Regions from separate parts of the Homo sapiens genome. Here region 1 is linked to region 2. Evidence: promoter capture Hi-C in human tissues and cell types (Jung and others, 2019). All regions are on one chromosome and are shown on one strand. Each heading gives the region's core, a stretch centred on a gene start or on the middle of the fragment in contact. The rest is flanking DNA. Distances are from core to core; before and after follow the strand shown.

Evidence for each region. The method cuts DNA at HindIII sites, captures the fragments that hold promoters and counts their contacts. A contact is called where the count stands out against the background at its distance.
Region 1: the fragment with the promoter of ZNF771 here is called in contact with the fragment with the promoter of MAZ in region 2 in 1 of the 25 tissues and cell types used here (small bowel).

Annotation. Positions count from the first base shown.
Region 1 is chr16:30,406,350-30,409,882 of GRCh38, forward strand. ZNF771 (zinc finger protein 771) reads left to right here and starts at 1,257. Exons shown (of 3, transcript NM_001142305.2): 1 at 1,257-1,315; 2 at 1,696-1,845. The coding sequence starts at 1,705. RefSeq lists silencers at 981-1,160, 1,183-1,392, 3,227-3,316. The HindIII fragment of the contact is 10,608 bases long and covers 1-3,533 here.
Region 2 is chr16:29,803,813-29,807,822 of GRCh38, forward strand. MAZ (MYC associated zinc finger protein) reads left to right here and starts at 2,717. Exons shown (of 5, transcript NM_002383.4): 1 at 2,717-3,081; 2 at 3,166-4,010. The coding sequence starts at 2,890. It overlaps KIF22 (kinesin family member 22), which reads left to right. Exons shown (of 14, transcript NM_007317.3): 11 at 186-253; 12 at 1,002-1,214; 13 at 1,303-1,362; 14 at 1,451-1,572. The coding sequence ends at 1,498. RefSeq lists silencers at 1,218-1,267, 2,008-2,347, 2,478-2,617, 3,518-4,010 and an enhancer at 1,648-1,697. The HindIII fragment of the contact is 10,316 bases long and covers 1-4,010 here.

The DNA of each region.
Region 1 (3,533 bases), core at 7-2,506, 600 kb after region 2:
GGCTAATTTTTGTATTTTTAGTAGAGACGGGGTTTCACCATGTTGGTTAGGCTGGTCTCGAAATCCTGACCTCAAGTGATCCACCGGCCTCCGCCTCCCAAAGTGCTGGGATTACAGGCATGAGCCACCGCGCCCGGCTTTGAAACGATTTTTTTTTTTTTTTTTTTTTTTTTTTTTTGAGACGGAGTCTCGCTCTGTCGCCCAGGCTGGAGCGCAGTGGCGCGATCTCGGCTAACTGCAAGCTCGCCTCCCGGGTTCACGCCATTCTCCTGTCTCAGCCTCCCGAGTAGCTGGCACTACAGGTGCCCGCCACCACGCCCAGCTAATTTTTTGTATTTTGTTTAGTAGAGTCGGGGTTTCACCGTGTTAGCCAGGATGGTCTCTATCTCCTGACCTCGTGATCCGCCCGCCTCGGCCTCCTAAAGTGCTGGGATTACAGGCGTGAGCCGCCGTGCCCGTCCGAAAAGATTTTTTAAAAGTAAAAATACCCTAAGGGCCAAACAAGGTACCCCTGTGGACTGGATTTAGCTTTGGGCTGTTGTTCACCTAGGCTACTGATTGTCAGGGATGCTATGACATCCTTATCGTGTAACTTAGGCAAATCAGTTTACCTCCCTGAACTTCAGTGAGCTCATCTGTAAAATGGATCAGGACCCATCGTTATGCGGATCAAATGAGACCAGGTATGTAAGACGCTGAACAGCGCTGGCGCATGGTAAGCACCCCACGCATGACGCGACAGCGGTAGCTTGGGTGGATGTTGAATTGGTTAGGATGTATTCAAGGATATCCCAGAGGCCAGCGGAATAGGCGAAGCCGAGAAAGATGGAGAAAAGACGGCAGAGGAGATAAAGAGGGAATGGAAGAAGTGAGGAGGCAACAGGGTCCGCCCTCCAGGCGGGGCGCCAGGGAGAGGCCCAGGCCGGGGCGGGAGCGCACGTGGCCTATTTCGGGCGGAGCAGAGGCACTGGGCGCAGCGGAGACCTCCAAGCCGGCCCCAGGAGACGGGCCGCGAGGTTAGGTTGGAACTCGGCGGCAAGGACCTTGAACGCCGGGCTGGGGCGGCTCCAGGTGCTTGGGAGTCGGGGGACTGCGGAGGACGCCAAGTCTGAGCTCGCCGCCCTCTCCGAGCCGTTTGGGCCGGACGCCTGGGTCCTTCGGGCTCCGCCCCAGGGGGTGGGGCTATATGTTCGGACCAATGACCGGCCGTCCCTGCGGTCCCGCCCCCTCCCCGCCCCCGGAGCCGCGGCCTCGCTGAGTGCCCAGCCGCCCGGCGCCCAGGCCTGGGGCACCGCGAGTGCCGAACCTTCGGCTGGTGAGTGCGCACCCCCTCCCCGGGGTTTCCGCCCCGATCCCGCCTCCAGCCCGTGCCCCAGAGCTCCAGGTCGCCGACCCGGGCCCTGGGGAGTGACTCAGCGCAAGGATGGTGGCGACTTGCGGGGGCTGGAGATTCGAACTGTTCAAGGCCTTGAATGCTGGGATGAGTGGGGTGAACGCGAGCCCTCGGAGCTGGTCCCGGGGCTGTGCCAGAGCGTGGGGCCGGGCTGGGGTGGACGGGAGAGGACCAGATTCGGAGACCAGGGCAGGGCGGGAGAAGCCACGGCTGCACTGCCTTGCTGGGCCAGGGCCACGGTGGGCGGGGGGGGGGGTGGGGGGGGGCGGGTCCTGAGCTTCTGATCCAGCTCCCCGCCTCAGGACACCAAGATGCCTGGCGAACAGCAGGCAGAGGAAGAGGAGGAGGAAGAGATGCAGGAGGAGATGGTGCTGCTGGTGAAGGGTGAGGAGGATGAGGGTGAGGAGAAGTATGAGGTGGTGAAACTCAAGATCCCCATGGACAACAAGGAGGTATGTGTCACACACACCCTGGGGCACACTGTCCCCAAACCTGGTCCAGGCCCAGCCTCCCTCAGATAGAAGCCAGGGATCTTGCCCCTACTTTTCCCAGAATCTCGGATCTAAAACCTCAGGATTGGCCCATCCTTCTGCCCTACTGCCTGGGCTTCCATCATACAAAAGTCACGCCTACTGTCCCAGGCTTCCTGCTGGGTGCAGGAGATTAAACTCCGTCCTTGGATCCCCCATGGAGCTTGATGTTAGACTGAAGGGTAACCACACAGTTAGAATCCCGTGTGATGGCTGCAGGTACAGGGGGATGATGAAGCCTAGAAGTGGGAACTTAACTCAGATTTAGAGGTTGGGGAAAGGTCAGGTTAGTTCAACAGCAACAGTAACAATAGCTAACCCTTGCCTAGCATTTTCTATGTGCCAGGCACTGTTCTAAGCACCTCGATTCTATGATGTCGGTAGCATTTATTCCATTTTACAGATGAGGAGACTGAGGCCCAGGGCAGTTTGGTAACTGGCCACAGGTCTCAAAGTAAAAGGATGGCTTATGTGAGACTAGTAGGAGTCTGGGGTCAGAAGTGGGGTGATGGACCCAGTCAGAGGAAATGGCTCTTTTATTATTACTGTTGTTATTGTTTGAGACAGGGTCTCATTCAGTCACCCAAGCTGTAGTGCAGTACAGCTCACTGCAGCCTTGACTTCCCTGGGCTCAGGTGATCCTCCCACCTCAGCCTCCCAAGTAGCTGGGACTACAGGCATGCACCACTACACCTGGCTAATTTTTTTTTGTTTTGTTTTGAGACAGAGTTTCGCTCTGTTGCCCAGGCTGGAGTGCAGTGGCGTGATCTCGGCTCACTGCAGCCTCCACCTCCCGGGTTCAAGTGGTTCTCCTACCTCAGCCTCCCAAGAAGCTGGGATTACAGGCATGCACCACCACGCCCGGCTAATTTTTTGTATTTTCAGTAGAGTTGGGGTTTTGCCATGTTGGCCAGACTGGTCTCAAACTCCTGAGTTCAGGTGATCCTCCCACCTCAGCCTCCCAAAGTGCTGGGATTATAGGTGTGAGCCACCGTATCCAGCCAGAAATGGCCCTTATAGAGGCTCAGACGAGTGAGTAGTGCACTGCAGCAGTGAGGGTGGGTGGTTCGGTCATGCTGTAGTGTGGATGAGTGGGGGTGGTTGGCAGGCCACACAGGGAGTCTGGCTTTTATTCTGAGGGTATTTGAAGGTTTTGAGATCAGAATATGAGTTAAATTTCACCCCCTGGAGACCCTAACTGCCACCAGATACGTTTCCGCTTCTCAGAACCCCAGAGGATTCTGTCTGCCCCCAGCCTGAGCAGCCCTGAGTACCAGCAGAGGGCTTTGGCCCCAGGGACCCAGCTTGCAGGGGCCGGGACTCTGATTCTTCCTGCCCAGGAGCCAGTTCCCAGGGAAAGAATGCTCTGCTGCCCCCTAGTGGGCCTGCTGGGTGCTGGGGGAGGGGACTAGCTCCTTAGGCCTCTGGATAGTCTAATAACTATCTGGTTGTGTTTGTTGCGGGCCCCCTTCGCCCATTATCCAGCTCTGCCTGCCTCTTCTGGCCCTGCGATTGCCTGATCTCCACCTTTGGCCTCTAAGTTACAAACACAGGCTCCAGAGCTTAGGGTGGACTTCCAGCTCCATCATTTACCCGCTGTGTGACCTTGG
Region 2 (4,010 bases), core at 1,467-3,966:
GAAGATAATGCAAGACTGACTGAAATTCCTTTAAATGCGGGTATAAAAAAGGTCATGTGGAAACACAACAGGTTAACTCTGGATGGAGGGGAGCTGGGGAATCAGAAATGGAAGAATCGAAGGGCTACCAGGGAGGGTGAAAAGTACCCTTTGCCCTGACTCCAATTCTCGATTCCTACTTTCAGTTCAGGAGCAGGCAGCATCCCCAAATGCCGAGATCCACATCCTGAAGAATAAAGGCCGGAAGAGAAAGGTGAAAGTAGCTGGGGGCTTAGGCTACACCTGGAGCCCAGAAGTAAGGGGGAGTAGGCTCTAGGGGGAGGAGCGTTGGCCTTGGGGTTAAACGAACTGGATGATGGCCGCCAGCTACTAACAGACCTCAACTTGCTTACCCCTGGAATGTGGTGATGGATGGTTCCTTGCAGGGCATTTAGGGTGGAAGGCAGTGATGTGGATGTACCTCGCAGAGCGGATGTTCCACTGTGTAGCCTGGCTTCTACCCTCTACAAGCTTAAGAGGGAAAACTTAGGGAACTATGACCTAAGCAGTCAAGCAAGAAACCACACATATGCACATACCCAGAATCGAACACCACTAGAACTACCCAAAAACTGAGATGGTTGGGGGAGGTATCATTTATTCATATTACTTTCTCCCATGTACTTTTTGAAAGACAGCTTATTCTTTCCCTTTTAGAGATGAGGGACCAGATTTAAGAGCTTATTTTGTGCTTTACATTCATTAACTCACTTGATCTCCACAGCAACTCCATGAGAAGGGTGCTAATATTACCACTGGGTACTGAGTAGTACCTCTCTTTCACTAGTTGCATAATAAGAATTAACCCAGAGAGTGACCTGAGGGCGGGATTTTGGACACACTTGACAAGAGAGGAAGAGGCTGGAGCGCAGGAGGTAGCTGGTGCTGGGCTCCTAGTCTTGGCAGAGGAGCCCAAAGCACTTGGCTGCCCTGCGTGTCACTCATCTCCCTTTGCCTCCCAGCTGGAGTCCCTGGATGCCCTAGAGCCTGAGGAGAAGGCTGAGGACTGCTGGGAGCTACAGATCAGCCCGGAGCTACTGGCTCATGGGCGCCAAAAAATACTGGATCTGCTGAACGAAGGCTCAGCCCGAGATCTCCGCAGTCTTCAGCGCATTGGCCCGAAGAAGGCCCAGCTAATCGTGGGCTGGCGGGAGCTCCACGGCCCCTTCAGCCAGGTAGCAGCCCACTGGACTGGGGGAGGGCGGGGGCGGGGGAGACCGGGTACCCCCGAGACCCTGTCCCCTATCGATCCTGTCCCGCCAGGTGGAGGACCTGGAACGCGTGGAGGGCATAACGGGGAAACAGATGGAGTCCTTCCTGAAGGTGAAGTCACGGCCCTGCCCCTCCTCTGCCTGTCCTGCGCCCCGCGCCCCTCTCTAACGTCGCTGTCTCCCTCCCTCCTGTGTTGCAGGCAAACATCCTGGGTCTCGCCGCCGGCCAGCGCTGTGGCGCCTCCTGACCGTCGTCTCCTCACTCCGCCTTTTCAAATTTTTGTATAACCCCGTGTTGTGTAAATACAGTTTTTGCTCCGGTGCTTCCGCCTGATTTTTGGGGCTGCGGGGGCGGGACCGGGGTGTGACCGCCTCGGGGTGGGCCGCGAGCAAGGCAGGCGACTCCACTGGGCGCCATCTTCGGGGAACGACTCAGCGCAGGATTGTAAATACACCGCTGGGGTGGGGCGGGGAGGACGGTGGCCTGCAGGACGCAAAAAGCGGAAGCCGAAGCATGAGGCCTGCGACCGTTAGGCGGGCGCGCGCTCAGGGATTAGCCCCGCCCCGTCCGTGCCCCCGGCGCGCGCGCTCCCCCATTCTCCCGCTCGGCAACGACGGCGGCCTTGTGCGCGTGCGCGCGAAATAACGGCCGCTGGCGGAGGGAGGGGGAGTGGAATCGTTGGCGGGGGGAAGAGGAGAGAAGCCGCCCTGTCTCCCGCGCGCCCACCACCTGCGCCATCGTCAGCCAATCAGCAGCCGTCTCAGGGGTCTCGCGCTCGGGGCGACTCGGGCTGCTGGGTGGCTCCCCCGTCCCTCCTCCCGCCAGAGTCCCTCTCGCGCCTGCCCCTCCCGCTGGCCACGCGCGCGCTCGCGCTAGCGCTCGCGCCCGCTCCAGCCTCTTGTGTGTCCTCGCGCCCCCCGCCCGCCCTCCCCGCGCGTAGTGTGCTCCGCTTCCCCCACCCTCCACCTCCCCCCTCCTGCCCGCCCCGCGCGCCTCCTCCCGGGTTCCCCCTCCCCCACCGCCGCCGCCTCCTCCTCCCGCCCCAGGGTGAGCGCGAGCCACCTCCCTCCCTCCCTCCGCCATGGATCCCAGCAACTGGAGCAGCTTCATCTTCCAGGTAACAACTCCCTCCCCCCGCCCCCACCCCCCTGCCCACACCCCCTCCTGCCCGCCCTCCCTCCCGTCCCACCCCCCCTCCGCGCGCCCGGTGCGCGCGCAGCTGTCCCCCTCCCTCCCTCGCGCCCTCCCCCGCCCTCCCCGAGGCGCCGGCTGGGCGCGCGCGCGGCGGGGGCCGAGGCTGCTCCCTCGCTCCCCCCACCCCGCCCCGCCAGGCTCCAACCGCCGCCGCCGCCGCCGCCGCCGCCCGGGCCCCCGCCCCCGGCCCCGGCCCCGCGGGGCCTCCCGCCCCCACCCAGGGGGCGTCGCCGCCGCCGTCGCCGCGGCGCTCCGCGGCCCGCAAGGCGCCCTCTTTTCCTCCCTCCCGCCGGCCGGGGTGCGCGGGCGGCGGGGCGGCCCGCGGGCCATGCGTTCGGCGCGGCCCAGCCCGGCCGGCCGGGGGCGGCGCCCCGAGCCCGGGCCCCGCGCGGCCCGCGCCCCCGGCCCCCGCTGAGCCCCGGGGGCCCCGCTGCGGCCGAGGCCATGTTCCCGGTGTTTCCTTGCACGCTGCTGGCCCCCCCCTTCCCCGTGCTGGGCCTGGACTCCCGGGGGGTGGGCGGCCTCATGAACTCCTTCCCGCCACCTCAGGGTCACGCCCAGAACCCCCTGCAGGTCGGGGCTGAGCTCCAGTCCCGCTTCTTTGCCTCCCAGGGCTGCGCCCAGAGTCCATTCCAGGTGAGTAGGGCCGGCCGCGGCGGCCCGGGCTGGGGGGGGACGCCCGCCCGCACCCGCGGCCCACTCGGCGCCTTGTCTCCGCAGGCCGCGCCGGCGCCCCCGCCCACGCCCCAGGCCCCGGCGGCCGAGCCCCTCCAGGTGGACTTGCTCCCGGTGCTCGCCGCCGCCCAGGAGTCCGCCGCGGCTGCTGCGGCCGCTGCCGCCGCTGCTGCCGCCGTCGCTGCCGCGCCCCCGGCCCCTGCCGCCGCCTCTACGGTGGACACAGCGGCCCTGAAGCAGCCTCCGGCGCCCCCTCCGCCACCCCCGCCAGTGTCGGCGCCCGCGGCCGAGGCCGCGCCCCCCGCCTCCGCCGCCACTATCGCCGCGGCGGCGGCCACCGCCGTCGTAGCCCCAACCTCGACGGTCGCCGTGGCCCCGGTCGCGTCTGCCTTGGAGAAGAAGACAAAGAGCAAGGGGCCCTACATCTGCGCTCTGTGCGCCAAGGAGTTCAAGAACGGCTACAATCTCCGGAGGCACGAAGCCATCCACACGGGAGCCAAGGCCGGCCGGGTCCCCTCGGGTGCTATGAAGATGCCGACCATGGTGCCCCTGAGCCTCCTGAGCGTGCCCCAGCTGAGCGGAGCCGGCGGGGGAGGGGGAGAGGCGGGTGCCGGCGGCGGCGCTGCCGCAGTGGCCGCCGGTGGCGTGGTGACCACGACCGCCTCGGGGAAGCGCATCCGGAAGAACCATGCCTGCGAGATGTGTGGCAAGGCCTTCCGCGACGTCTACCACCTGAACCGACACAAGCTGTCGCACTCGGACGAGAAGCCCTACCAGTGCCCGGTGTGCCAGCAGCGCTTCAAGCGCAAGGACCGCATGAGCTACCACGTGCGCTCACATGACGGCGCTGTGCACAAGCCCTACAACTGCTCCCACTGTGGCAAGAGCTT